Regions from separate parts of the Homo sapiens genome. Here all the other regions are linked to region 1. Evidence: promoter capture Hi-C in 16 types of primary human blood cells and fetal thymus (Javierre and others, 2016). All regions are on one chromosome and are shown on one strand. Each heading gives the region's core, a stretch centred on a gene start or on the middle of the fragment in contact. The rest is flanking DNA. Distances are from core to core; before and after follow the strand shown. Region 1 holds the start of SCLT1 (sodium channel and clathrin linker 1). Region 2 overlaps SAP30 (Sin3A associated protein 30). Region 3 overlaps PLRG1 (pleiotropic regulator 1).

Region 1 (4,882 bases), core at 1,607-4,106:
GCCCATTTATCAGGGAAACGGAGAAATGAGGAAGTCAGCCTGAAAGGGGGAGTACGCTCACTTAGCAGGAGACAGCTGAAAAGTAAAATACTTTTCAGTATTTTCCAGAGATCAAGCGAAAAACAAGACCTGGCGACGACGAAAGGAATGTCAGAGAGAAGAGGGAACAACTAGAGAACACAGACCACGAAGCTTTTCTCAAACACTGGCTTCTTCTTTTCAGCCGAGGTCACAGGAGAGGGCTCGGCTTTAGGCTCCACCCAGCTGCCTACACGTTCTGGGGGAGGGGCTTAGAACACTGAAGCTAAGACGCTTGATTTTTCTAGGAAAGAAAGATGTTGAAGGGCCACACATGAACAACTGAAGACTTCTAATCGTTCCACTAAAGTATGAGTGGTTTCCTAGAAGAAGGAAGGGTGATTCAGAAATATAAATACTGTGCAATAATTTGAAAATCAACTGTAAATCATTAAGATTACAATATAACATGTACAGAAATATTTCATTTAATACAACTAAAGGCTAACTGGCCATATAAGCAAAAACTATAAATTATATTATACCAGCTATAAACTATATTATACTATATTCCTGGGGAGGCATGTTCATAGCAGTTAACAATTGTGAAATTAGAACCATACTGCCTGGGTTCAAATCTCAACTCAGGCACTTGCCAGCTGTGTGATCTGTTCTGATCCTTGCTTAAACTTCTAACTTTGTATTCTTCCTGGTACTTTGCACATAGTACTGGGTGCTCAATGTCAATTGATCAACCAAATGAATGTTAGTGAAATGTCACTAATTTTCAATCTATACAACTTTAGGGGTTTTCTTTATTGCAGAAAAGTCATATAAAAACATTAAATGGTGGCTTGACAAGAGTTACACACAAACTACATACATTTCTGCTTGTCATTCCTTGTATTCAATTTATACTAATAGATACTTTTCATGAACATCCACTGAATTCTTTCATTCCTTCCATCAGATATTTAATCAACTCTGTGTTCCAGGTATTATGATGGAGCCTGGAGACAAACTACAAAACATGACAGATAATGCAGGAAGGAGCATGAAGTAAGTACTAAGGTGGCACCTACCTTGGGAGAAGTGGATAAAGAACTCAGGAGATGTGAAAAGGAGGAACATGAGAGGGGATCCTTTAAGGATAAGTGAAATCATCACAATTTTGTTTCCTAATGATGAAACTTATGTTGAAAATACTCCATTAAAATTCAACTACTAAAATCTTGTAACCACAAACACAAACGCAAAAACAAAAAACTATCATGATCATAATTATGATCATGTAAGCTAAAAAATTCGAGTGCAGACATAAAAGTTTTCACCTGAGATATTCACTTTATGTAAATACCACTCATCAGTTATAGCCAGAAGGTATTTGCTTCCATCCAGTTTGGGTGTAAGCGTAGAGTTAAGTCTATAATTATTTATTTGATGCCAAGTAGAAATACGACAATATACAAGGTTCAAATGTGGGAGAAGTTACAAGCAAGTCCTTGGAGAGTCAGTGAGATGTTTATGAAGAAAGAGTCATATACTGAACTTCAAAAACGAGTTGGACCTTGCACACTCAATTTTCCCTTAGCTATAACGTTTATACAAAAAGTTTTTGTGTAAACGTTATAGCTACTAAAAATCAGAACAAGTTCAATTATCACCAACTCAAAGCTGGATTAGACCTTTTCAATGATTATTAAGCTACACATCCATATTTAACAGCTAGTCTTTAGAGGAAGGGACCATCTCATTCTATTAACAGTGAGTATTGAGTAAGGCCTTCAGATGCCTAACTGCATATATTTGAATACATTTTTAAAATTTCTTAACACATATCGCTAAGGTTACTTTGTTTATATGACATTATGAGTACGGGACAACAAAACTCTTAAGCCGTTAAACAGAAAGCCAAATCAAGCTGCATCTATGACATGCCTGTTTAGTGAAACTTTACTTCAGTCCATAAAAATACAATTTATTAAAAGCACAAAACTAGTGGCTAGCTTCAAGTTAACATTTTTGTTGCTAGTGGTGAGATTTCCTCTAATGTTAAATGATTTTTTTTAAAAAAATACGTTTTAAGTCCAGACAAAATTAATTTTCAAAAATGAAAATTGTAATCTATCCACAAATGTAAGTTTTACCGTTTTGTTTTTTGCAAAAAAAAGTACCTTTTATCTTTCCTTATATTTGAGGAAACAAGCTTATCTTTGAAGAAGTAGCTGCTGAATTTGCAAGATCTTTTGAGTACTTCTAACTACACGCTTTATTACTACACAGTTAAATATTTAAACAACAGTTGTCTCCTTTGTCTAAAGACCCACAAAGACCGAGAAGGTACTTACCTTCTTGAGATGACCAAATCCAAACCTAGAACTCCTCCAGAGGTACAGCCTTGGTGGGAGATTCTGAAGACGCCAGTCTGGCTTCTATCCCTAGCCGCAGGAACCTGCATCTTTTACTTAGTCCAGAAAGGCTTAGTATATTAGTAACCCAAAGATAGTGAGGGCATTTAAACTGTGTATTTCATTCTCTACTCACGTTTGCATTTTGGTTTTTTGTTTGTTTGTTTGTTTGTTTTAAAGAGGTTGGGCCTCACTACCTGGAGACACTGTCCCACCAGTTTGGCCGCCGCGCCAAGCCGGTGGCTCAGCCCGCTGTCATCCAGGTTCTCACGACTCCTCCCATTGCTTGACAGCCAGCCAATAGCGTGCTAGGACTCTAGGACGCGCGATGGCGTAAGCTCCAACGCCCGCGTGATGACGCAAGAGGCGCCACCGTCTCCAAGGAGTGGTCCGGGGCACCGGTTTCAAAGTCGCAGGGCGGGCCGAGTGGACTTCCGCTGCTGGCCTGGGGCTTCCCAGCCGTCTTGGCGTTGTCCTCTCCAACCCCCGCCGCTCCGCGTAGAACGCCGCTCTCAGGCTGCCGTCAAGCTCCCGCGGCACTCTCCTAGGTGGCCCGACGAGACCCAGAGTGACCCGCGGGACGCCTGTATCGACCGCGTCCTCTTCCCACCAGCGTGGGATTCGGTTGAACGTGGAGTCCCCAGCAATCTTCAGTCTCTCACCAGGGCCAGGGACTCGTCTGGGGCGCGGGGGAAAGAAGCGTGGCGGGGCTGTAGATGCCGCGTGAGTAGGATGCAGATTGCACCGCTGGAGCGCTTGACAACCAACCGAGCGTTGGCTTAGTTTTGTTTTCCCGCACAGCAAGCTCTCTGTCTTTCAGAGGAAGGTAAAGGTGGTGAAAGCTCTAAACTAAAATTGTATCGAAATGGCTGCAGAAATCGACTTTCTGAGAGAGCAAAGTAAGCTCCATGTTTTTTTGAGACTTCATATACAATGTTTAATATCGTCGTCGTTGACCGACAAATCTTTTTTGAATGCTGGTTGGGTACATTTAAATTGGTAAAGAGTTAAAGAAGTTAGTTGCAGGAAAAAAAAAACCTTGATGTTATACGTGAGGATGTGTGTATATTTAAGCAGAACCGTGTGGTAGTACTTGTAGCTTACACAGAATTCTACTAGACGCTAAACATGTTTGTTATGCTCCTCTCGTGCTCTGAAGATTAGAAGGCTAATGGCCAGCAGGAGTTTCCAAGTGTGCATTTAAAATCTAGGGGCACAGCTCTCTGGCCATTTATTAAAAAGATGTTTATTGAACTCCTGTTTCTATTATGTACCAGACACTATGGAAGAACAGCTGCTGCAAAGATAAACAGGACAGTTTTTACCTCCAAGAATTTAATTTGGGGAGGGAAATGTATTCCAAAATATATTGAAGTGACAGCAACTGCTGGCTCTTTTGCCACAGTCTCATAGGGTTGTTGGAAAGATTAAATGAATATTAAAATATGTAAAGGATTTAGAATAGTATCTGATACATTGTGTTAAACAAATATTAACTATTACACGATTATTATTAAAATATGTTCAAGGAAGGTGCTATTGGGCTGAAACGTGCAGTACAAATATGAATTTACTATATGAAAAACTCTAGGCATCCCAAATAGAACAATATTTGTGACACTGAGGGGATTAGGAATATGCTTTGTTAAAGACTTGCAATACGGCTGGTTTGAGTGTAATATTGATGTAAATTGAATTGGAATATTTATATAGGGAAATGGCAAGTGCAGTTGAAGGCGTAGAAAGGGGCTGGATGGTGAAGGGCCCTGTCTTCTCTGTGCTAAGGAGTATGGACCATTGCATGGGTTATAGGAATTCAGTTGAGAGTGGCATGATCAAATTGTAGTTTAGAAGGCCCGGTCTGATTTTTACGGGGAATATGCATTATAGCAGAGTGCAGTTAGTTGTCTACTGTCATCATTCAGGTAAGAAGTAAACTAAGTTGGGCACAGGGAGACTGGAGATCAGGGGATTTGAGAGAAAGAGGTAGAGAGCAACTTAGTTTTTGCTTGAGCAACGGGGAAGTTAGGAAAAAGGTAGTAAGTTCCGTTTTGGTAGCATTATAGACCAGTGGTTAAGAACTCAGTCAGCCTCTGGATTTAGTCTGTCTGGGCTCACAGCCTACCTCTTTCCAGGTCTGTGACCTCGAGCAAGTTTCCTAGCTTTTCTGCACCTCAGTTTTCTCATTTATATAATGAGTATAAGAACACAAGAATCCTCTTGAAGTTGTGAGACTTAAATGAGATGATGAAAAAGCATTGAGCATAGTGTCTGGCACATATTAAGTGCATGGTATATGTTATCTAAAATAATTAATGACACTATAATGACACAATAACATTAGCATTATTTCTTAGGTTTGCAGTGGGAATATCCCCACCCCATAAGAACAGCTAACTGGCCACCGTAAGAGTAGTGTGGGACAGGAATTGGTTGATGAGGAGTTTGGCTAGAGT
Region 2 (4,882 bases), core at 1,078-3,577, about 44 Mb before region 1:
TGCTATGTGATAAGGGCTATTTCCTTTAAAAATTATATTTAACAAAATATCAACAAGACAGAAAGCATTCAAGAATAAAATGTTACGAACAAGAGATAGTGTGATTTCAAAGGACCCTTTGACCCACTCAATTTAATATACATTGATTAGAAAATATATTTTCCTTTTATTTATTTTAAATTTTATAATTGGGCCAGGCGTGGTGGCTCATGCCTGTAATCCCAGCACTTTGGGAGGCAGAGGTGGGTGGATCACTTGAGCCCAGGAGTTTGAGACCAGCCTGAGCAACATGACGAAACCCCATCTCTACCAAAAAAAATACAAAAATTAGATAGGCCTGGTGGTGTACACCTGTAATCCTAGCTACTCAGAAGGCTTAGACAGGAGGATTGCTTGAACCCAGAAGGTGGAGGTTGCAGTGAGCTGAGATCATGCCACTGGACTTCAGCCTGGGCAACAGAGCAAGACTCTGTCTCAAAAAAAGATAAATAAATAAAATAAAAATAATAAATTTTATAATTAGAATCTAGAATAGGGAATAAATGATTTTACTTTTAAACTTTAAATGAGATAAAACAGACGTAAGAGATCACATGCATCATTAAACCTGCAATGGTTTAGACTCTACTGATAGAAAAAGAAGTATGAAGTTGAAAACTTTTGCTAGTAGAGAAACCAACAATAACATATAAATTGTTTGCTGCAAATTATATTCATTCATTCACACCTTGGTAGCATTCTTTGGTTAAGGTTCCTTGAAAATTTTTCTGAATAAAAATTATGAATGGAAATGAGAGGAGAAAGAGGGATGTTCAATGAAGGATGTTTACCTGCTTCCTTGCTTTTTCATTGTGCTAACATAACATGCATACTACAATTACTAATAGAAGAATAATAGACTTACCTGGGGTGCTGACATGCATATTTAGATTCCAGAAAATAAAATTTCTTAAGAAAAAAGTTCATCCACACAATAATTAAGAGACTTAAGACTTAGTCATACAACCCTGGATTCCCTTAAAACAGTGGTCCCCAACCTTTTTGGCACCAGAGATAGATTTCACGGAAGGCAATTTTTGCACAGATTGAGGGTGGCGGAGTTGGTTTTGGTATGAAATTGTTCCACCTCAGATCATCAGGCATTAGATTCTTATAACAAGCATACAATCTAGATCCCTCACATGTGCACTTCACAAGAGGGTTTGGACTCCTCTGAGAATCTAATTCTGTGGCTGATCTGACAGGAGGCGGAGCTCAGGCAGTAATGCTTGCTAGCTGGTGCTCACCTCCTGCTCTGCGGACCCGTTCCTAACAGGCCACCAACCAGTACCAGTCCATGGCCCTGGGGTTGGGGACCCCTCTCTTAAAATATATGTACTACATCTGCACATTCCTTAACTTGCTAATATCTGCATTTCTGATTAAGTAAAATATAACACTCATGGCTATCTCTTATGTATAAAAAAGAAAATAGCTCTGGAAATAATATAACTGTTCTTAGAAGGTCAGTTTATCAAAAATTACAGGTTTAATTTATACCTAAATATAACATTTAAAATAATCAGTTCTTTGGTTCTCATTTGTCCCAAAACAGGGGTGCCTTCACTCCATTAGTACCTATTGAAATATTTCATCATGGTGGGCAATAACTATATTTATGTTACATTAATGTATTGTACAACCCCAAAAGAACTTGATCTTTTAAATCAAAATTAAAGAAAAATTAATTAGATCTGTGTTGCCCAACCAAGGATAAAAAATTTTAGCTAAATAGTTAATATATTAGATTTTAACAATGTTAAAAAGCATTCTGCCAAATAAATGTAACTTCTATTCATATTTCATTTTATTCAATAGGCACATTTTAGAAAATGTTGGGTAACTACTAAATCCATGCAAAGAATATGAGAAAACTGATTTATATTTCTACACTTCTATTTTGTCTAGTAGGCCAAATTTTCTTTTTTTAGAGATGGAGTGTTGCTATGTTGCCCATGGTGACTCAAACTCCTAGGCTTAATCAATCCTCCTCAGTAGCTGCAAGTAAAAATTTTTATTTTAAATATGATTAAAATATATATATATAAATCTATAAACATCTTAATAAGATGCACAGATTTCTTGGTTCTATTATATCCTGAAAACATATGCATGCTCCGTTAACTTTTCACAACTCAGTGACTGACTAGAAGTCCTCTATCAAAGCAAACTACAAGTAAAAGCTTGGGTAAAAGAAAAGCTTTTGCCTCTTCTAGATGTGAAAAAAACATGGATGTCTCTAATAAAACAAACATCAACAAGGACAAATTTTGAAATAGTTAAGTCAGCAAATTATAAAAATACTGTTTAGGGTCTGATTTGTAGGCCTATTCCACCACTTTAAAATATAAATTCTAATAAGGACATTAAAGCTTGTTAATTAATTTTATTATGCCTCAATTAGGTGCTCAAATGTTTACTGGTTAAACGGAGTTTTAAAATTAATAGATTTCTAAAGTGAGGATTAAAAAAACTCTCATTCAACATTTTGAGGGCCAGGCACGGTGGCTCACACTGGTAATCCCAGCACTCTGGTAGGCTGAGGTGGGCAGATCACTTGAAGTCAGGAGTTTGAAACAAGTCTGGCCAACATGGTGAAACCCTATCTCTACTAAAAATATTATACAAAAATTAGCCTGGTGTGGTGGTGCACACCTGAAGTCCCAGGTACTTGGGAGGCTGAGGCTGGAGAATTGCTTGAACCTGGTAGGTAGAGGTTTCAATGAGCCAAGATCATGCCACTGCACTCCAGCCTGGGTGACAGAGTGAGATTCTGTCTCAAAAAACAATCAACACATTTTGAAAGCCAGTATCAGAAGGTGCTGTACACAATCTACTAAGCAGTCATTACAAAAAGGAATTTCCTAAGTGGCAGACAAACATTTCTACACAACTAGATTCTTCCACAACAGATTTTTTAACTTTGTTCTTTCTAATTAAAATGTACTGTTACATACACTACATTAAAACTTCCATTAGCACTTAATAACCTCTCGGTTGTGCAGATAGTTCAAATAGTTTAAAACTCATATATACCTCAACAAGTTGTGCTTTATTAAGTCCTGGTCTGGTTGGTAGCTTGAAGTGTCTTTTGTATCTCCTAAGTGTATTTACTTGTAATTGGTATAAATCAACCTAGAAAAAATTAACATGTATAAATGAGTTCATACAATTTGTTGAAAATTTATCATTGATATGTATAATAACAAACATTTTAACTTCAGCACAATAAAATTTACTTCCAAAATCAAAAAAAATTTAAAAAATTTATATAATCCAACATAAATTATTAAAGAATTTAATCTTTTGGGGATAAATAATATAAACTGAGGTCAAAAAAAGAGTAAGTTATGTGACAACAGAGCTGCAAAAATTGTCAATCTAAAATGTAACAATTCAAACTGTGTAAATGCATGTCAACTGGCTATATTTAATTTTGCTTTCATTTTCAGATTTCTCAAATGTTTTAAACACTTAAAAGATTGTTCATATCTTTTTATAAAGGCTTCAGAATGCACTACTTAGGATTTACATTAAGCATAAAAAACTTCCATCTACCTCTGGGGTATCAATATCTTGAACAGGTGAATCACCTCCATCATCATCACTCCCTTTTCTCTTTCTTCTGTTTCGAACACTCTGAATTAAGTTTTTATGATAATCACATATGTAAAGATGCCTTGCCTGAAACAGAAAAGTTTTACACACTGCTTATGATTACAGTAAAATGTGTCTATGTATTAGTAAAACACATATGCCACAGTGAGTTCTTAAAAATAAAGACAGCCAAGATGGGCCATTGTTAAGATAATGGAATATTTATACGTTTAAATCCTATACGCTAAAACATAAGATGTCTGGAATACTGTTAAAAGGATGGTGGATGGGGAAGGAGGGGTTGGTTCCATCTGGGGAAGGGGGTAAGGGAGGGAGGGAGAGGAGAATGAGAAATTCCAACCCTCTGGGTTTTGTCATCAAATTGCAGTGAGGGGCTGGGCGCGGTGGTTCACGCCTGTAATCCCAGCACTTTGGGAGGCCAAGGCGGGTGGATCACTTGAGCTCAGGAGTTCCACACAAGCCTGGCCAACATAGTGAAATCCCGTCTCTACTAAAAATACAAAAAATTAGGCGGGCATGGTGGCAGTAGCCTGTAATCCCAGCTACTCAGGAGGCTATGGCAGGAGAATCACTTGAACCTGGTGGTTGGAGGTTGCAGTGAGCCGAGATCGCGCCACTGCACTCCAGCCTGGGCAACAGAGTGAGACTTTGTCTTAAATAAATAAACAAACAGATAGCAGTAAGGATGACCTGAATTAGTTCATGTTGAATTTTTAACTGATGAGGGGAAAGATGATGTTGCTCACAGTTTTGCTACTTGACAGTACTTTCTCTACTTAAAAGAACAGCATATTTTAGTAATATAATGTATGCTTTCCAGTCTTTCTAACTGAATACCCAAATTATAGTCCAGATACAAAACCATTCGTTTTCACAAATGAGCCATCGACTTCAAAACTATATTTAAATTTCAGTTATACATTTTTCTGAATATTAAATCAATGTATTTATCTATAACACATTTTTCCAAAACAATCTGAAATTATGCAAGTTCACCTGAAGAGTTTCTCATGGATAACACTGAAAACTGTTTAAACGGGCAAAAAGTGTCACAAATAAACTTTTCAAAAACTTTAATTACATATACTCCTGCGAGCTGTAGACTAGCATTTGAAACAAACACGGACTGAGCTAACAGGCTTTTACATTTACTTCTAAGCCAAGCGCAAGATAAAAATATGCAGGACTTGTGGTAGGTTCTCGATACCATGTTATTCATTTACCG
Region 3 (4,882 bases), core at 1,645-4,144, about 25 Mb before region 1:
GTGGTCTCTTCTTCGGGTTTTCGGGGAAGGGGTAGAAGCCGGATGAGAACCCGAGTCGGAGGTTCAGCCTGGGCGCGAAGCCTGAGATAATTCGTCCAGTCCTCGTTTGACTCTTGGGAGCTGGAAAGTGTCCTCGGAGGCGGGGCCTCTGTTGGTGATCGACCACTGGTACTTGCCGCCCTCGGGGCAGTGTCAGTGAGTCTGTGCCCTAAAAGATTGGTAGTCTTCTCTATCTTGCGTTCAGGTCGTCTCTTATTTCACCTCTACCCCCAGAAAAACTTGCCGTTCTTTACATCTTTCCCTGGCATGAACAGCCAACGCTGTTAGCTGGTCTTGTCCATCTTACCCCACATGTTTATTGATTCCATTCACTCTTCTCCATATCCGCTGCAGTCCACCTTAATTGAGACCAACATCATCTTTCACCTGGACTGGTGCATTAGCTCCCCGTTGGTTGGTTTCCTTGCTTCCATTTTGTTCTATAAGTTGTTCTGTTTAAAACGTAAGTTGTTCATACCTTTCTTGTTTAAAACCCTTTACTGACCCTATGTTGCTAGAACAAAATATAGGCTGTTGTAATAGTCTAAAAGACCTTACCTAATCTGGACCTTGTCTACCCTTGCAGCTACAAAGCACCATCTCATCCTCCATACACAGCTGTACTGCGCTCCTTGTATTATTTCAGTTAACTGAACTTTTTTTTACATGACATTTCCATCAGCCTGGTTCGTTCTTACCTCTGTTTTGTGCAAGGCTAACTCCCTTTCTGCTTAAATATCACCTTAGTGAAATCTTTCACAATTATACTTAGTCCTTCATTCCCTGACTCAGCGCCTTGCTTGTTGCCTTCATAGCACTTATCAAAATGTGGAATTATTTTACTTTTTATTTGTCTGTTTCCTCTTGAGCACAGGGACCATGACCACCTTTTTATCATTCTATTGTGAGATTCTAGCACAATACCTGCCAGACACACAGTAGGAGCTCAGTAAATATTTATTGAGTAAGTTAAACTCCGGCATCACTCAGTTGCTAAACCTGAGGTTCTAGCCAAAGAGGAGCTTCCTCCTCTTCTCTGAACTTGACTCCTGTAGCTTGCAACAAGTAGCTATGGTGAGTGGTATAAAGCTTTTTACATATTTAAACACGTGAAGTGTATAATCAATCTGACTTTAGGTTATGATTTGTGTAATTTGTAGATAGGTGTGTAATTACATTCTTTTTTTTTAGGAGGTACAGAAACATTCTGTACACACCCTTGTGTTCAGGTCGTTGAAGAGGACCCATGACATGTTTGTAGCTGATAATGGAAAACCTGTGCCTTTAGATGAAGAGAGGTTGGTGTAGTTTTTTTTTTTCAATTGCTAAAATACTTAACATTCTAATACTAGGGGAAGAGAGCAGGGAGAGGGAGTCCTTTAAAGATAAGCTAGTCATGGGCTAATTATTCAATAATGAGTGGTGTTTTGGCATAATTTAAGCTGATTTAACTTTTTTTTTTGGCCTTTTACAGTAAAAGTTCCATTAATTAATTGCATTTTACAAATACCCAGTAATTAAGAGAGTCCCTTTTAGGTATTTTATTTTATAATCAATCACTTTGTATGTGCTTTCAGCTTCCCGCTGCTCTCAGAGCCTTGCTGAGCTGAAATTGTACCTGGCTAGTACCTCTACTCCCATCTTTTCTCGTTAGTATGATGAAGATTTTTGAGTGGTGGCATATTTTTGGTTCTACATATCCAGCTCCAGTCTGGGAATGCATTATGTGCAGTGTTCCTTCTTTGTCCTTTACCTTTTTAAAATCTACTTAACTCCTCAAACAAGCATTTATATTTAATTTATAAAGTAGACTATTTTTAAAAGTAATATAAATGCATTTCTTTTTAAGATATTGAACCAATTAAGTACTTTGATTAGTTCTAACTAACCTGTTTGGATACATCTAGTAAAGGTTGCTATAGAGTTTTTACTATATTTATATTTTGAAGGAAAGTATATTGACTTTGAGGTTTCTTAAAGGGTATGTTAGTTTCTGTATATCTTTCAGTCAGACCCTTGACAATTTATCATAAAAGGTTTTCTATTTATTAGGTAACAAACTAAAATATTACGTAGGTTTAATGAATGCTGTGTGGTCGAATGTAAGCAAAAGAACAGATATGGTGGGGAAATGCCCTTGGAAATTTTTGATTCTTTTAAATACTACTTAAAATCATACTAGAAACTTTTTCTACGTGAATGGGCAAACTTAAGCTAAGTGTTTGTTTTAAAGTATTTATGGATACGTTCTTATGTTTATAATTTCTAAATAGTCACAAACGAAAAATGGCAATCAAGCTTCGTAATGAGTATGGTCCTGTGTTGCATATGCCTACTTCAAAAGAAAATCTTAAAGAGAAGGGTCCTCAGAATGCAACGGATTCATATGTTCATAAACAGTACCCTGCCAATCAAGGTGAGTATGGTATTATCAGAAATGTCAGACTTATATGTGAATTTTAAAAACAGAAAAATAAAATATGTTATTTTTGCCCCTCCTGGCAGGACTTATTGTGGTCGTACAGTATTTAATGGCCGTACCTGTATTATAATGGAAGTTTTGATCCTCATGGGAATACTGTTGATGACTTTTTTCTTATAGGAAATAAAAATGGTAGTATAATGATGGCAGAGATTCTTAGAGTGTGGAGAAGGTCACAGTAGAGATTAAAGGAAAAAATTGGAGAATATTCTTAACCTGTGAGGACACCATCTATCTTGTCTGTAATTCAGAAAGATGAAATTAAATACTGAAATCTTAATAAGTAAAGAGAATTCAAGATTCCACAGGAAACCATTTGCTTGGAAGAAATACCAGAGTGGATTGTCACTTGATAGGAGGGCTTCTTTGTATACCATTGCTATATAGCAAATGGTCAAGGACATGGTTTACAGAGATCAAAGCAAAAGTGATCAACTTCCCTTATTTCTGAGGCTTGACTTTAGTTGAGAAAATTTGATAGATCCAGTTGAAAACTTAATATTACTTGATACATTTAAAGAGATGATAACTTTTGTATAAGGTAAATTCACTACTGTTGATTTTTTTTGTGTTTTTTTAGGACAAGAAGTTGAATACTTTGTGGCAGGTACACATCCATACCCACCAGGACCTGGTTAGTGAGCTGTTATATATTGAAAATGTCTTAAAAATGTCACATATATTTTCACTAACGAGCCAATAATGAGATTCTTGTTGCCTATAAAATGCAAGATAAGCTCAGTAGCCAAGCATCCATGCATAGCTTTGTAGGTAATAATGAATACTCATATGCCTTCATTCAGCAAACATTCTTAAGTACGTATAATTTTTCAGGCAATGTGCTAGGAATTCAAAGACAGTAAAACTGTTGCAGGCCTAGTTATTTATTATCTGGTGGTTTAGGCAGACATGTAAATATCACTAAGCTTGTAAAAATGATGGAAATGTTAGAAGCAGTATCTGAGAAACATGTCCTCTGTCTGTATTAAGGCATTGGTCCACAGATGGAGTGGCCAGTGTAACAGGGTAGAGGACAAAAGGCTTAGTATGTAAAGAAAGTACAGGGAAATTGGGTGTTTCTAGTTTTAGTAAGTTACATCCACTCTTGGAAACATTCTGTTAGTATTTGAGGAACTGCTTAATACTGACTTGAAACTAATACCCAAATATAATGGAAATTAACTTTACTATTCTGGGCTGCTTTAATACCATGTGGGCTGTGATCAAATCAAATTTGAGTTACGTGTTATTAAGCAGTATTTATTGTAGAAATTAAAAACAAAGATGAGCAAAACTTAATCAAATTTGTATAATATCACTGCCTGGAGATAATAAACATTTGGTGTATGTTTTCCTTCATCATTTTATTTTAAGTGCATGTAAATGAATAATACACAGCTACTAAAAGAAGTTGATTTTTCATTTTAATAGGGGTTGCTTTGACAGCAGATACTAAGATCCAGAGAATGCCAAGTGAATCAGCTGCACAGTCCTTAGCGGTGGCATTACCTTTGCAGACCAAGTATGAAATATTATAATTACAAAGATCTTAAAAGCATATTTCACTGTTCACATTTTTTCTTTTTAAAATTTCTTTATAACTATTATATGACATTTTCCTTTATCAGGACTTTATAACAATTTAAAATAAAGGGTTAGTTTTGCAGAATACATGACTGGAGGCATTAATTACTTTGAAAATATTATTTCTTTTGCCCCAGGGCTGATGCAAATCGTACTGCCCCTAGTGGAAGTGAATACCGACATCCTGGGGCTTCTGACCGTCCACAGCCTACAGCGATGAATTCAGTAAGTTTTTCTGCATCAAATAGCAGGTTTCTAACTTTTGGAACATGTTGCCATATTTCCCTCTTCTTTGGAATTATTAAGATAAATAGCAGCCTGAGCTAGTCATTCATATTTCATAGCCCTAAAACTCAAGTTGGTAGTAAATTAACGTATTTTTTGGAATTTAATTCTGTTATTTGTCTACTTGTACATTGTGTGTAATATATATTTTGATAAAGATAATGTGATGTTGGTATTTATTGCCCACTATTAAAAATGCAAGGAGAGTTTTTCTGAAACTTGTGTTAGTATGTATTGAATATGAAAGTCTTTTTTTTTTTATTAAATTTTAAGTTGGTGTGTACAGTTATCTTGAGTGCTGTTAGTGTTGTACTATTCATGGGCTATACAACTAGTCTTATAAATGAGCATTTAGAAATAAGTTTATCTGTTTGTAAGTAAATGGCAACTGGTATTAGTATGGTAGAAATAGTTGTTGAATTTTCTATAGTTATTTTATTGATTTATCTGCAGCATAATAAAATATGCTGCCACTTGAAATAAGTGCTGGTT

Evidence for each region. The method cuts DNA at HindIII sites, captures the fragments that hold promoters and counts their contacts. A CHiCAGO score of 5 or more calls a contact.
Region 2: a contact is called between a fragment that was not itself captured here and the fragment with the promoter of SCLT1 in region 1, in 1 of 17 cell types (non-activated CD4 T cells). The highest score is 5.5, in non-activated CD4 T cells.
Region 3: a contact is called between a fragment that was not itself captured here and the fragment with the promoter of SCLT1 in region 1, in 2 of 17 cell types (total CD4 T cells and non-activated CD4 T cells). The highest score is 7.0, in total CD4 T cells.

Annotation. Positions count from the first base shown.
Region 1 is chr4:129,091,513-129,096,394 of GRCh38, reverse strand. It overlaps SCLT1 (sodium channel and clathrin linker 1), which reads left to right and starts at 2,856. Exons shown (of 21, transcript NM_144643.4): 1 at 2,856-3,325. The coding sequence starts at 3,292. It overlaps C4orf33 (chromosome 4 open reading frame 33), which reads right to left and starts at 243. Exons shown (of 6, transcript NM_001099783.2): 1 at 186-243. RefSeq lists an enhancer at 2,592-3,161. The HindIII fragment of the contact is 3,346 bases long and covers 2,227-4,882 here.
Region 2 is chr4:173,372,231-173,377,112 of GRCh38, reverse strand. SAP30 (Sin3A associated protein 30) reads right to left here. Exons shown (of 4, transcript NM_003864.4): 2 at 3,598-3,723; 3 at 3,076-3,174. Among named protein-coding and RNA genes, the nearest start is that of SAP30, 3.7 kb to the right of the region's middle. The HindIII fragment of the contact is 172 bases long and covers 2,242-2,413 here.
Region 3 is chr4:154,545,284-154,550,165 of GRCh38, reverse strand. PLRG1 (pleiotropic regulator 1) reads left to right here. Exons shown (of 15, transcript NM_002669.4): 2 at 1,231-1,337; 3 at 2,313-2,455; 4 at 3,102-3,155; 5 at 3,953-4,043; 6 at 4,243-4,330. Among named protein-coding and RNA genes, the nearest start is that of PLRG1, 2.7 kb to the left of the region's middle. The HindIII fragment of the contact is 1,110 bases long and covers 2,340-3,449 here.